Linked DNA regions of Homo sapiens: all the other regions are linked to region 1. Evidence: promoter capture Hi-C in 16 types of primary human blood cells and fetal thymus (Javierre and others, 2016). All regions are on one chromosome and are shown on one strand. The core of a region is centred on a gene start or on the middle of the fragment in contact, and the rest is flanking DNA. Distances in the headings are between cores, read along the strand shown.

Region 1 (2,530 bases), core at 8-2,507:
ATGAGTCAGAGTTTTAAAAAAGCTAAAAAGGGAAGATGTAGTTAAATAATGCACCTTTTTATTTTCTAGCTACATGACTCATGACATATAATGTATTCTGCTAAGTTCAAAGTTTCCTCTTACAAAGAGAGTTTTATGAAACAACTCTTCTTCAGACCATTTTTATTTCAATTATAGTAGCAGGTTTTGGAGTTTAAATCATTAACAACCTCTGAGTGAACTTTTATCCAAATGACTGCAAGTCACAAAGAGAACAGTCCTCTTTCACCAAGTACCTTTTGTGCTCTAGTGAGACCCGTCCTTTTCTATTTTTCTCCTTTATGTCTCTCTTTGAAGAAAGATGTGTGATTTGTAAGGTAATGAAAGTATGTATCAGTTAATGAAAACTGCTATATTGGGCTCATAATGCACACTGGAATTGCTTCAGGGTAAACTTCATATACCTGCAGTATATAGCAGGGGAAAAAGTGAATTTCCGAAGTAAAGATTGCTGTGTGCACTCTAGGAGTATCACGTAGCAGTTAAAGCAACCATCAGGGGTGACCTAATCTTATTTTCCTCTCTTTGTCAAGTAGCTGTAATGTTCATTTAGGAGCATTTTTCAGTTTTAACTCCAGTGGACACTCCAAAACTGGGCACTTATTCTGTCAACTGTCAACCAAGTTATTGATTTCACCATATGTTGTCTTCATTTTTTTTAAATTAGTTTTTTTGGAATGTTTTTGAAGAGTGTGTGGGAGACGATAACCTCCAGATTTAAGGTGATGGGGTAGGGACAAAAGCCTGCAGAATTTCATACAGAACAAAATGTAGCTTAATAAACAAAAGAAAGTGAAGAGAGAAATTTATTTCCTTTTTAAAAGTCAGTAAAATAATGAACTAATCGTTGTTTAAAGAGTGAGAAAAACTTTTTCCCCCTAGATTTGGTGACTAGCGGGATAAATTTGAAGAACTCCATCCCACCCCCGCACGCGCGCCCCCCATTCTTTCCAGACAGAGCGGTTGTAAATCCGAGGCTGAGTCCGCCCTGGGAGCCTTGGGGCACTTTCCTCTTTGCTCTGTGTGTGTGTGTGCGTGCGTGTGTGTGTGTGTAGCTCTCGCTCTTTCCCTCAGTCTGTGCCTCTTGTGTGTGTGTGTGTGTGACAGAGAGAGAGCGAGAGAGAGAGCGCGAGAGGAGAGAGAGCGAGAAAGAGAGAGAGAGAGAGCAAGAGAGCGAGCTGTGAGCTGTGCTGCCGCCGCCGCTGCCCTTTGATCCCGACATTAGTGTTAGGGGCTCGGAGACACAGAGCGCGGCCATAGACACCGCCGCACCGGCACTCATTTATTTATACCTCCCATCACACACGCGAGCATAGGACACACACACACTCACACCTATTAGATCCGTTTCCATTGAAGAATATTACGCTCGGGGACAAGCCAGGTGCACGACCAAAAATTTAAAAAAAAAAAAAAAAGGAAAAAAGAAAGGAAAGAAAAGAAGAAAACCCCTCTTCTGGCTCCAGGAAACAAGCTTCAACCCATTGCACACACCGGAGAAGGGGTTTCCCCCTGCCCGCCCGCCCGCCCCCCAACTACCTCCCCGCTCCTGCCAGTGTCTGCCTCTCTGCCCCCACGGGGGTTTATTTGATCTCACATTAACCAAGGAGGAGAATGTGAGAAAAGGGGGAAAATGCCCAGGAGGAAGCAGGAGCAGCCCAAGCGCCTTCCCTCACGTAAGTCATCCCTTCTCCACCTCCTCTCGTGCCATTTTCTCGCCCTCCCTCTCCTCTTTCCCCTCCGCAGCCTCCTCCGTTGTTTTCTGCATTAGTTTAGGGTTACAGAGGTGAAACTGACAAAGACACAGCCCGGGTTACTCCTCGTTTAGGTCTATGCTGAGGCAGCCATGTTGGTGATGATCAGCCCCGTGCCCTTTCTATTCTCTCTCTCTTTTTCTTTCTTTCTCTCACCCCCCCCCTTTTTTTCCTTGAGATCGGGCTTTTTTTTCCCTTTCCCTCCCCTTCCCCCTCCTCACTCTGGGTTGCTGGGGGGAGGGGGCAAGAGAAGGGAGGAGGGGAGTAGTGTGGATGCCGGGGGTTTTATCGGGGGTTTGGTGGGGGGAGGTGGGAGAGGTTGGAATCTTAAAAAAAAAAAAATTCCTTGTGGATTCCGGCGCCTGAGGGTGCGGGGGTCGGGGCGCGCGGAGGGCTGGGGGCCGTGACATGGCGTTTGGGGGTGTCGGGGAGAGGGCGCGCAGCAGCCGCCGGGTACAGGATCCAGGGAGAGGTCCGTCCCTGGCTAAAGGTTGCGCCGGGGTTGGTCGGCCCCCGAGCCGCCGGCGGCAGCGGCGGCGGCGGCTGGAGCAGGAGGAGGCGGAGGTGGAGGAGGCGGCGGCGGAGGAGGGGAGTCGGGGGCGGGCGAGGCGGGAGCGGCTGGGGAGGGTGTAGGGGCACCGCACACAAACACACGGGTACACACGCGCCGCCGGGCGGCTGCTCCCGCGGCGCCGAGGCGAGGGGGCGCGCCGGGGCGCGGGGCGGCCGGGCGGGGG
Region 2 (2,530 bases), core at 17-2,516, 990 kb before region 1:
GATATATATGTGTGTATATATATATATATATATATATATATATATATATGCACACACACATACAAATATATGTAGTGTGTATCTTCATAAATATATATATATATATTGTATGTGTGCATGTTTGTGTGTATATATGTATGTGTGTATTAGCATCTTCAAGCTCTGTGCTTTAACTATTAATCCCAATTTTCTACATACCACTATATAAAAATCTTTCAATATATTTTAAGTGCTTCTCTTTAAACCAAAGTGTAAGCATGTTAAGTCATATTAAATACAGGCATACCTTATTCTATTGCACTTTGCTGTATTGCACATCACAGATACTGTATAGCTAGAAAACCCAAATAGAGAAGCTTCTTCCTCTTCTTCCTTGCAATCCACACAGTGCAGGCAAAACTTGACAGTTCCTTCATAAGAAGAATATCAGGAACACATCACTAATTCAGATGTCAGATTTATATTAACCAACATCAGTATATGCATGCAAACCTTGACACAACAAAGAAAAGCTCCAGAAAAATAGCCTACATATTTTACTGTAAGGAGGGCTGTGGAGGCATCCTTAGGCCAAGTCTGTCGACTTAGACATGTATATAAAATTAGGTTTTCTTATTTAACTAGCTTGCCTATATTGCTTTTCATGGAAGCATCCTGTTTTTCCTACTTTAGGTAAATTAAATTTGTAAGGAAGAAGCTAAAATACTGAAATACTAGCTGACATGGGGAAGATAAAATAATTGGCCACTGTGAAAAGGACAGACTGTCTGGGGACAAGGGCAAGGCATGACTGGGCCCTGCAGCCACCCTTTTCAGTGTATTTACATTGTGTTGAAATTAAATAACAGAATTCATAACAAAGCATTTTTTTGTTGACCTTACTCTGTTTCATATGGCAGGGAAATGAATAATATATTTTAGAAAAGTTTTAATTATATGTTTTGCTTTATTAGTTTTTGTTTTAGTCTAGGTTTATATATTGAAAGATTTGTGTTGCTGGAAAATTTCCAATGTTGATTGCCTCTGTCCTTAAATTAATACAAATTGTTTATTAATTTACTTATTAATTAATTACTAGAGTATCTTCCAAAACTCTTAGATGATCAATAAGAATCTTTCCAAATCTCTTTTATGCTTTTTGGATTTTTAAAAAATTCCCTTCACATTGTTCCTAAGGGATAAAAGTTATTTGGTCAGAATAATTTCCAAAAAGCCTAAATTTTCTTCTAAGTATGCTAGGAAACCTTTGGCTCATTTTATGCAGGGAAATGATATGATATCACTTTATTTTAAAAGGATCACTCAAGGCTGTTGTGCTCTGTAGATATTTGACTGGGGAACACCCCAAGCAAAAGACATTGGTGGCTTGATCAGGGCAGATGTAGTAGAAATGATGAGAAGTGGTCTAATTTAGAATATATTCAAGTGACAGAGAGATCAGAGTTTACCGACGGAGTAAACATGGGAACTTAGTAAAGGAATAGATAAAAAATGACTCCTTCTGAACTGACCTGAGCAACTAGAGGGATGTCTTGTTCACTGCTGAGTCTCCAGCACCTATAACAGTATCCACATAGTAGGCACTCAAGAAATACTTTTTAATTAAGGCCAGTCTCATCCCAGCCTGTGCATACTGTTTCCAGGTTTAATTCCTTCCATTCCTGCTTTGAAATTCATCTTCTTGCAAAAATAATAGTAATGACTAATATTTGTAGAGCACTTTCTATGTTTCAGGTATTGTTTTAAGTGCCTCATATGTATTCATTCATTTAATTCACAAAAAGTATTTATTAGTTCAATTTACAGCTAAAAATTGATGCACAGAGATACTAAGTAACTTTCCCAAGGACACACACATAATAAGTAGAAGAGCTGACTTTGAATCTAGGCAGTCTGGGTCTAACACTCATTTTTGGAGCATTATACCATTCTGCCTCTGAAAATACTCAGGTCTTCATTAAACTGTGTTTTCTCTCATCTCTCATTCTTAGTGTATTTCCATTCTCTTGGCCTAGAATGATTTTTCTCCTTACTGTCTCATGATTCTTACTCATTCTTAAATGGCTCGACTGTATTAGATAAACTTGCTACTATCTTGTAATCTCCAGTGCACTTATAGCACTGTATTGCCATTGCAATACAGTATAATTGTTTCCTATACTTGACTACAAGCTTCAAGAGAGCTGAGGCCATTGCTGCTCTGCTCGTATGTGCATCATTGGTACTCTATTCATACAGTGCTTAGCTCACCTCACAGGAATGAGAACCCATGATCTTTTACCCCTTCATAGCCTTGCACATGTGTTCTGCCTGGAAAACCCTCTGCTTTCTCTCATGCCTTGTGTACTGGGCAAGCTTTTATCTTCCAGCTTCAACTTAACAGTTTCCTGCTTTGTGAGGCCTCCTTTGAAACACTTGGTAGAGAGCAGAACTCCTGTTTGAACTATCTTGATGGCCATTGACAGTCATGTACAAGTGTTTTATTTCCCCTTTATTAATATTTAACATACTATAGTATGTTCTATACTAT
Region 3 (2,530 bases), core at 22-2,521, 760 kb after region 1:
GGATTTGGGCCTGCCGGAGGCCTGACCTGAATCAGCTCCACAGCCATGGAGCTAAAAATAGGGCAGTCTTGGAGGACTTGCTAAAACAGTGTCTCAGCCTTTCCCAGTATTTATCACTATCTTGTCCCAAGTAAAAATGGGAAAGCCTTCTAGTTTGCTTTCATGTATATATTAATTTGCAGAGATATTTGTCATACTACTTTAATTCTTTCGAAGTGTTATCAACCTTGCACAATAATTTACATTTTAGACAGTTGTCATTTAACCTTGCTTTTCTTGCAGTGCTTGACTTTGTGAATTACCAGCACTCTCACACTTTATAGAAGTTGCTAAGAGTTTTGCTTCTGAGCAACAGGTTCAGATAGATTGTATGTGCCAAAATCTTTGTTAAAAGAGAAGAACCAGTAGATATGCCTACCATTGCTTTTGATTGAAAATAAGCTTTACTAACTTATGTTTGCCACCTGTTGCTAGGTAAATGGCTTTAAGACTAGCTCCACGTTGCTAATGGCAGAGGAAAGCCCTATCAGATGACACTGTGGTTTATTCATACGAGTAATACCTTGATTCATGATAGTGTCTAACATAGCTTCTGTGAAAGAAGTGTTGCTAAATGTCATTTGTTGAATTGGCAAAAAAATTCTACGGTGGTTATTTTTATATATAGATAGTCCTTTTTGGTCACATACTCTTAGAATATATAAGAATATAGTTTAATAGTGTCCAAGAACAGCAGTGAAGGTAGAATCAGTTAAACTGAAAACCAGTTATTACACTGAAAACAAACTAATTGCTAACCTCAACAGGTGCATTTTCAGTGTATCTCAGCGTAATAGGACATACTAGGCGTCCAGGCAGTTGTGCCGGTTCTGTGGGTATAAATGAGCCTTGGTTGTGATCCAAGAGAGCTGTAGAATGCACAGCTGGAGCCTCCCTTTTCCCAAATGCTCTACTCATGCTAAACGTAAAGGGAGAACCACTCAATTGGATCTGTAACTTTTTTTTTTTGAGACAGAGTCTTACTCTGTCACTCAGGCTGGAGTGCCCTGGCACGATCTCGGCTCACTGCAACCTCTGCCTCCTGGTTTCAAGCCATTCTCCTGCCTCAGCCTCCCAGGTAGCTGGGACTACAGGCACGCACCACCACACCTGGCTAATTTTTTTTTTTTTTTTGTATTTTTTAGTAGAGATGGGGTTTTCACCATGTTGACCAGGCTAGTCTCAAACTCCTGACCTCAGGGGACCCACCCTCCTCGGCCTCCCAAAGTGCTGGGATTACAGGCGTGAGCCACAGTGCCCGGCCAGGATCTGTAACTTTTAAAGATACTTTCTATTAATATAAATTCTCAAGAGGCCTTGATGGTAGTTTGAAATGTGTTACTTTAAGTGTGTCTGAGTTTTTTTTTTTTAAACCATAACCCTTTACGGTACAGGAATATCTTTATTTGAGATACCCAGTAATAGAAAAGAATTTTAATCTCCTTTAAGCATGTTAAATAATTGGGAGCTAGGGCCGGGCGTGGTGGCTCATGTCTGTAATCCCAGCACTTTGAGAGGCCCAGGCGGGCAGATCACCTGAGGTCAGGAGTTTGAGACCACCCTGCCCAACATGGTGAAACCCTGTCTCTACTAAAAATAGAAAAATGAGCCGGAAAAAAAAAAAAGAAAGAAAGAAAAATTAGCCGGACATGGCAGCTCCTGTAATCCGGCTACTCGGGAGGCTGAGGCAGGAGAATCGCTTGAACTTGTGAGGCGGAGGTTGCGGTGAGCTGAGATTGCACCACTGCACTCCAGCCTGGTGGGGGAAAAAAGAATTGGGAGCTAGCTAGAAGGAAGCATTGGATAAGAAATAGTTGTTTCAGGCTGGGCACAGTGGCTCATGCCTGTTGTAATCCCAGCACATTGGGAGGTCGAGGTGGGCGGATCACGAGGTCAGGAGTTTGAGACCAGCCTGGCCAAGATGGTGAAACCCTGTCTCTACTAAAAATACAAAAATTAGCCAAGCGCCGTGGTAGTTGGCTGTAATCCCAGCTACTCAGGAGGCTGAGGCAGGAAGATCGCTTGAACCTGGGAGGTGAAGGTTGCAGAGAGCCAAGCTTGCGCCACTGCACTCTAGCCTGGGTGACAGAGCAGGACTCCGTCTCAAAAAAAAAAAAAGAAATAGTTGTTTCAATTCACAGCTTTAGAATTTTGGTAAAAGACCACATGCCAGTAAGTTATCTTTTTGTTGAACTGGTTGTTTAATAGAAGAAAATGTAAACTGCAGAGTGAGAGGATCTGGATCATACTTTGTAGGTTGGTACTTTACAATTTAGGGCATAAAAACAAACCCCAAACCTCTTGGGATGATACCACACAACATTTTTGCACCCCCTATGCTGCCTACTTGGATGTTCTTTCTTGTCTTATAAGCTTGATCACCAAGGAAAGAATGAGTGCCTTAATTTTTCTGAAACCATAGTGGACTTAAATTTTTACACAGAGCCTCTAAGTGGATTCAGAATTAATGGGAAAAATAAATCGGCCTCTT
Region 4 (2,530 bases), core at 17-2,516, 730 kb after region 1:
CTTGTCACTCAGGCTGGAGTGCAATGGCACGATCTTGGCTCTCTGCAACCTCTGCCTCCTGGGTTCAAGCAATTCTCCTGTCTCAGCCTCCCAAGTAGCTAGGATTACAGGCACCGGCCAACATGCCCGGCTAATTTTTGTATTTTTAGTACAGATGGGGTTTCACTATGTTGGCCTGGCTAGTCTCGAACTCCGGACCTCAGGTGATCCACCTGCCTTGGCCTCCTGAAGTGCTGGGATTACAGGTGTGAGTCACCGTGCCCAGCCAGGAGTATGGGTTTTATCAGGAAGGATCTGAAAACACTGCCTGCTTGTACTAGAAATCGTCCTTCAAACCTACCCCGTGAGATCTGCAGTCCTTTACCAGGATGACTGTGCACTGGGAAAAGACAAGTATCCAAATTTGGGGGAATTCATAGATTTGAGTTGATGCTAATCAAATTTGAGTTGATGCTAATCCCTGGGAAAAATCACTGTGATCCATCATTCATTCAGAATGGGGGCTTATAGAGGTCAGGGGGTTAATGGAGTTTGGGGCTGAGACTATGTCACAGTGGGCCCAGTGGGCTCGCAGCCCCATCCTGTGGTTATATCCTCTGTCTCTGGATATATCTCTGGATAGTTGAGGTAGACATACCTAGCAACTGCAGAATCTCACATGCAACTACTCATAACTCAGAGTACAGTGGAGAGGGGAGCAAAAAGAAGATATTCGGTACAGCCTCTTTTCTCACCCATCGTGGTACTTGATTGCATACAAAGTGACCATAGCAGTAGGGATAGAGTCAATCATAACAGGGACTTCAATAACAGAGACTTCCCTTAACAAGGCTGATCTGACTATAGCCACTGCTGGGTGCCCAACCAGCCAACAGCAGAGGCCAACACTGAGTCACTGATAGGGCACATTTCCCAGAGGAGACCAGCCAGCTGTTTTGTGGTAGGTAGACAATAGTGAGCTCCTTCCATCACAGAAGGAGCAAATTAAGCACTTACTGAGGATATGCATTGGTCCTCAATGCCTGCAATAAATCTCCCAATACCATCTATGGGTTCACAGGAGGCCTTATTCAGTAGCATGGTATTCCTTACAATATGACTTCTGGAAACCATTTTACAAAAAAAAAAAAAAAAAAGTACAATTGTTCATTGCTCATGGAGTTCACTGGTCTTACTACCTAAATTATCAGCCAGAAGCAGCTGGCCTAATAGAATGGAAGAATAGCTTACTAAGAAGCCAGTTATGTCATCTGCCAGAAGACAACATTCTATGATGTAGGGGTGCAGTATAACTCTGATCCAGCTCTCTACTTATGATGTGTTATTTCTCTCATAGCCATAATACATGGGATAGTCCAAGTGATAGAAATGGGAGTGGCCTCTCTCCCTGTTAAGCCTAGCCCTTTCTCAGAGGTTTTGCCTCTCATTCTCACCCTTGGGCTTTGCTAGTTTACAGGACTTAGTTCCCAAAGAGGAATATTGTCACCAGAGAATCCAACACAAGTCCCATCAAATTGGAAGCTGAGACTCACCAACAAGTAGAGAAGGAAGTTGCTGTAGAGACTGGAAAAATTGATCTGATTAACACAAGAAAACTGGGTGGCTGGTGCATGGTGCAGGTAGGGAGGATCATGTCTAGAACCCCAGGGATTCTCTAGGATATCTCATTACTTCTATGTCCAGTGTAAAGCCACCCAATAAAATCTGAACTTCTATGGACTAAGATCCTTCAATATAAAGGTCTTAGTCACCCAATCAGGTACAGAATCCCAACAAATCCAGGTGCTATATTAGGACAAAGCAATCATGAAATGGGTGGTGGAAGAAGGAAGTAATAAATATCACTCTTGACCCTGTAATCAGTTACAGAAATATGGATCATAGCAGCTATGCACATACACGCACACAATATTTCATATGTGCCAGTTTTTTTTTCTTTCAGATTTTCTTACCATTATCTTCCCTCTTATGTTGAATGAGAATTGGTAGTGACTAATTTTACAATTTAGTTCACAGGTAACCAGGACCACAAGGAACCACAACAGGGAGGATTACAGGATTGTGTTATCACCTGGAAAATCTTGAGATAGGTACAATGGCTGACTTTTCTAGGACCTTGTGTGTCCATTTTCTGGAAAAAAAGACAACAGTATCTTTGTTTGCATGATGGATAGTAGACTCATGTTAGGCAGAATCATGGAGTTGCTGTTGTATTGGTATAAGGGTGTTATGGTTTGGCTCTGTGTCCCCACCCAAATCTCACCTTGAATTGTAATAATCCCCATATGTCCTGGGAGGAACCTGGTGAGAGGTAATTGAATCATAGGGGCGGGTTTTCCTCCACTGTTTTCATGATAGTGAATAAGTCTCATGAGATATGATGGTTTTATAAAGGGGAGATCCCCTGCACAAGCTCTCTTGCCTGCCACCATGTAAGATGTACCTCTGCTTCCCCTTTGCCTCTGCCATGATTGTGAGGCCTCCCCAGCCATGTGAATGTGTGAGCCCATTAAATTTCTTTCCTTTATAA
Region 5 (2,530 bases), core at 16-2,515, 580 kb before region 1:
CATCACGAAACAATCTCTTCCAAACCTTAAGTTCTATTTTTAACCATTTAAGTGGCAGATGCCAGGTTATTTCAAAATATCACATACTATTTTCTTTCTTTCTTCATTTGGATGAATGATACAGTGGAGTTCATGCTCTTGCAGGGTCTACCGGTAGGAAGTCCATTCATGAAACCATCAATGTCACTGGTTGCCACAAGACATTTCAAGGAAGAAACTGGCAGATAGAACTAGCACTCGTGGCAATGGAAGGTAGGACTCCCCAACCTCTCAGACTCAATCCCCCACCACTTCCGCGTTGGAATCCGCGACCCTCTTCCCAGAGTTTTCCTGTGGCTTGGGTAGGTCAGCCCTGGGGGCGAGCCAGAGCGGGCACCCGCGCGCCCAGGGGCTTGCCAGCGCAGACCCCACTCCGCCCGCGAGTAGCTTAGTTGGTGGGGAGACTTCAGCTGTCACTCTCGGCCCGCAAAGGCAGATCTGCCCCGATCCCTGCAGCCCTCCCCAGTCCCGGAGACAGGTGTGGGCCGCAGAGGGAAGGGGATCCGGACCAAATGCCCACCCGCAGGCGAGCGACCTGGCGAGGTCGGGCCCACCTTCCTTGGGTTGTAGCGGACGCCGGCAAGCAGGGGTCCAGCGAACGTGGGCATCTGCCCGGCGCCGGATTTTCAACCCACCGCCAGAGATAAGGCTCCCCGCCCACCAGCGAGCCACTTTCCCGCGCGGACACCTCTAACTCCGGCAGCTCAGGCTGGGAACTCGGAGATCCAGAGTGGCCTCCCCTCCCCCCCGCGCATACGTCAGCGCTAGCGTCGTGGAAGCGCCGTAATGTCCCGAAGAAGCGCGTCTCCAAACTTGCACCCCGCTGCCGCAGCTTCAACGGAGAAATCCCTTGCCCCAAGCACACGTCAGCCCTGCCCGCGGAGTCATGGCACAGCAAAAGAGAGGCTCTCCATGGAGATATGCTCCAGAAGGGTGGGTGGCTGTGCCTAAAGGTTTGTTAGAAAAGGACAGTCAGTGAGGCTTGCTGGCTGTGGCGCCTTACGACGCTCTCCCCGACCCCTCGTCATTCAGAAGGTTCCGCAGGTCTCGACAGCGGTGCGCTTGTCAGCCCCATCCGGCGGCCAGCCTCCCTTGCCGGATCGCCCACGTTGTCGGCCTGGTCCGAGTTCTTCATTTCAAAGCATCTGCACCTGCGAGCCCGCGGCCAGAGGCGCTGGGGGCGTTTGTGCGCGTGTATTCTGAGGCGCGTGGTAGTGATGGCGGCGCTCAGTGAGACTTTCCTGTCACTGGCTACTACTACTCCCAACCCTCCTCAAAGCCGCCGGAGCAACCCCCAGGTCTTTACTTTACAATCGGCAATTTGACTTGCTCTGCTGCATGTCTGGAGGGACCAAGGAAAGTGTGGAGACGCTCCAAGGATTAGGTGATCGGAGCTTGAAAAGAAAAAAAGCCAAACAAATAAACAAAACCCACCCACCCTAACAAATATGAGGCTGCTGGAGAGAATGAGGAAAGACTGGTTCATGGTCGGAATAGTGCTGGCGATCGCTGGAGCTAAACTGGAGCCGTCCATAGGGGTGAATGGGGGTAAGTGCTGCACCTCTGCCGGCTCCACCGCGGCTCCCACTTCAGAACTAATTTGTGAGTCTTGGAAAGGTGGGGCAACCCTCATTGCAAGCGCTTGCCAATTTCAGGGGGCACTGACCAGCCTTTGGCCCTTTTGCTGATTTTCTAATTTACCAACCCCAGAGGGAACTTGTAATTAGGAACGAGGCAAAGGAATTTGAGGGCAGGTAGCCTTTTCCGTAGACAAACAATGACTATCCTGAGTGTCAAGAAGTGAGGTTACAGAGAATGAAACTTACTCCTCTTGCCTTCAAAGTAGCATCCTATCCCAAGGGAATCTAGGTTGCTAAGAGTTCCGTATCTATCTTGGAGTGGACCTCATTATCGAGTCTACTTTCGAGTCCTCCCCGCCCCCACATTAAAAAAAAAAGTGGAGGAAAAACAAGAAAAGGGACACCTCCGCCCCCAACTCAGATTTTATGGCCCACATGTTGGAGAGTGATGATTTGCTGTAGTTGCTGGTGCTCCAGAAACTCCCAAGCCGACTGACACGTTGCACTCTTTGATTACAGGACACTTCATTACAGCATACTTCCGTGTGCTGCCGGGATTCAGTTGCTATACTAGCAGTCTAACAGATACAGACTGTTAGACTATGTGTAGTGTAGTGTAGTGTGTGTTTTGGCAAGGAAATGTGGATGGACTGAAAGCATACTTAGATCTCTGAATAGTGGGAGCTTTGTACAGGAGATGATGGGCACTGGTGGGAACATTAGAAATATTAGTTTTTTATGCCCCCCCCAACACCTTTAGACAATCTTGTACTACTTTTCATAAACATTAATTGAATTTATTCAATTCGCTTGTCTTTTTGACCTTGTTTGTCAGTTTCCAAGCTTATTGACAGGTTTAATACCTAACTCATGCAACCGGAGCAAATAAGGATAGAGGTGAACAGGCACAA

What was found. Contacts are between HindIII fragments. The CHiCAGO score rates a contact against its expected background, and 5 or more counts as called.
Region 2: a fragment that was not itself captured here is called in contact with the fragment with the promoter of ZNF827 in region 1 in 1 of 17 cell types (M2 macrophages); the score reaches 7.3 in M2 macrophages.
Region 3: a contact is called between a fragment that was not itself captured here and the fragment with the promoter of ZNF827 in region 1, in 2 of 17 cell types (fetal thymus and total CD8 T cells). The highest score is 8.7, in fetal thymus.
Region 4: a fragment that was not itself captured here is called in contact with the fragment with the promoter of ZNF827 in region 1 in 1 of 17 cell types (activated CD4 T cells); the score reaches 5.5 in activated CD4 T cells.
Region 5: a contact is called between the fragment with the promoter of SLC10A7 here and the fragment with the promoter of ZNF827 in region 1, in 1 of 17 cell types (fetal thymus). The highest score is 6.3, in fetal thymus.

The regions. Positions count from the first base shown.
Region 1 is chr4:145,937,550-145,940,079 of GRCh38, reverse strand. ZNF827 (zinc finger protein 827) reads left to right here and starts at 1,257. Exons shown (of 15, transcript NM_001306215.2): 1 at 1,257-1,715. The coding sequence starts at 1,673. RefSeq lists an enhancer at 1,881-1,940 and silencers at 2,315-2,384, 2,505-2,530. The HindIII fragment of the contact is 1,765 bases long and covers 1-1,515 here.
Region 2 is chr4:146,927,604-146,930,133 of GRCh38, reverse strand. The region is part of intron 4 of TTC29 (tetratricopeptide repeat domain 29); the gene reads left to right. Among named protein-coding and RNA genes, the nearest start is that of TTC29-AS1, 5.1 kb to the left of the region's middle. The HindIII fragment of the contact is 1,816 bases long and covers 359-2,174 here.
Region 3 is chr4:145,175,177-145,177,706 of GRCh38, reverse strand. The region is part of intron 1 of OTUD4 (OTU deubiquitinase 4); the gene reads left to right. Among named protein-coding and RNA genes, the nearest start is that of OTUD4, 4.1 kb to the left of the region's middle. The HindIII fragment of the contact is 1,655 bases long and covers 444-2,098 here.
Region 4 is chr4:145,206,498-145,209,027 of GRCh38, reverse strand. No RefSeq gene overlaps it. Among named protein-coding and RNA genes, the nearest start is that of OTUD4, 27 kb to the right of the region's middle. The HindIII fragment of the contact is 3,706 bases long and covers 1-2,530 here.
Region 5 is chr4:146,520,675-146,523,204 of GRCh38, reverse strand. SLC10A7 (solute carrier family 10 member 7) reads left to right here and starts at 1,265. Exons shown (of 12, transcript NM_001029998.6): 1 at 1,265-1,587. The coding sequence starts at 1,488. RefSeq lists enhancers at 418-497, 668-1,087, 1,098-1,177, 1,398-1,467, 1,908-2,137. The HindIII fragment of the contact is 7,940 bases long and covers 1-2,464 here.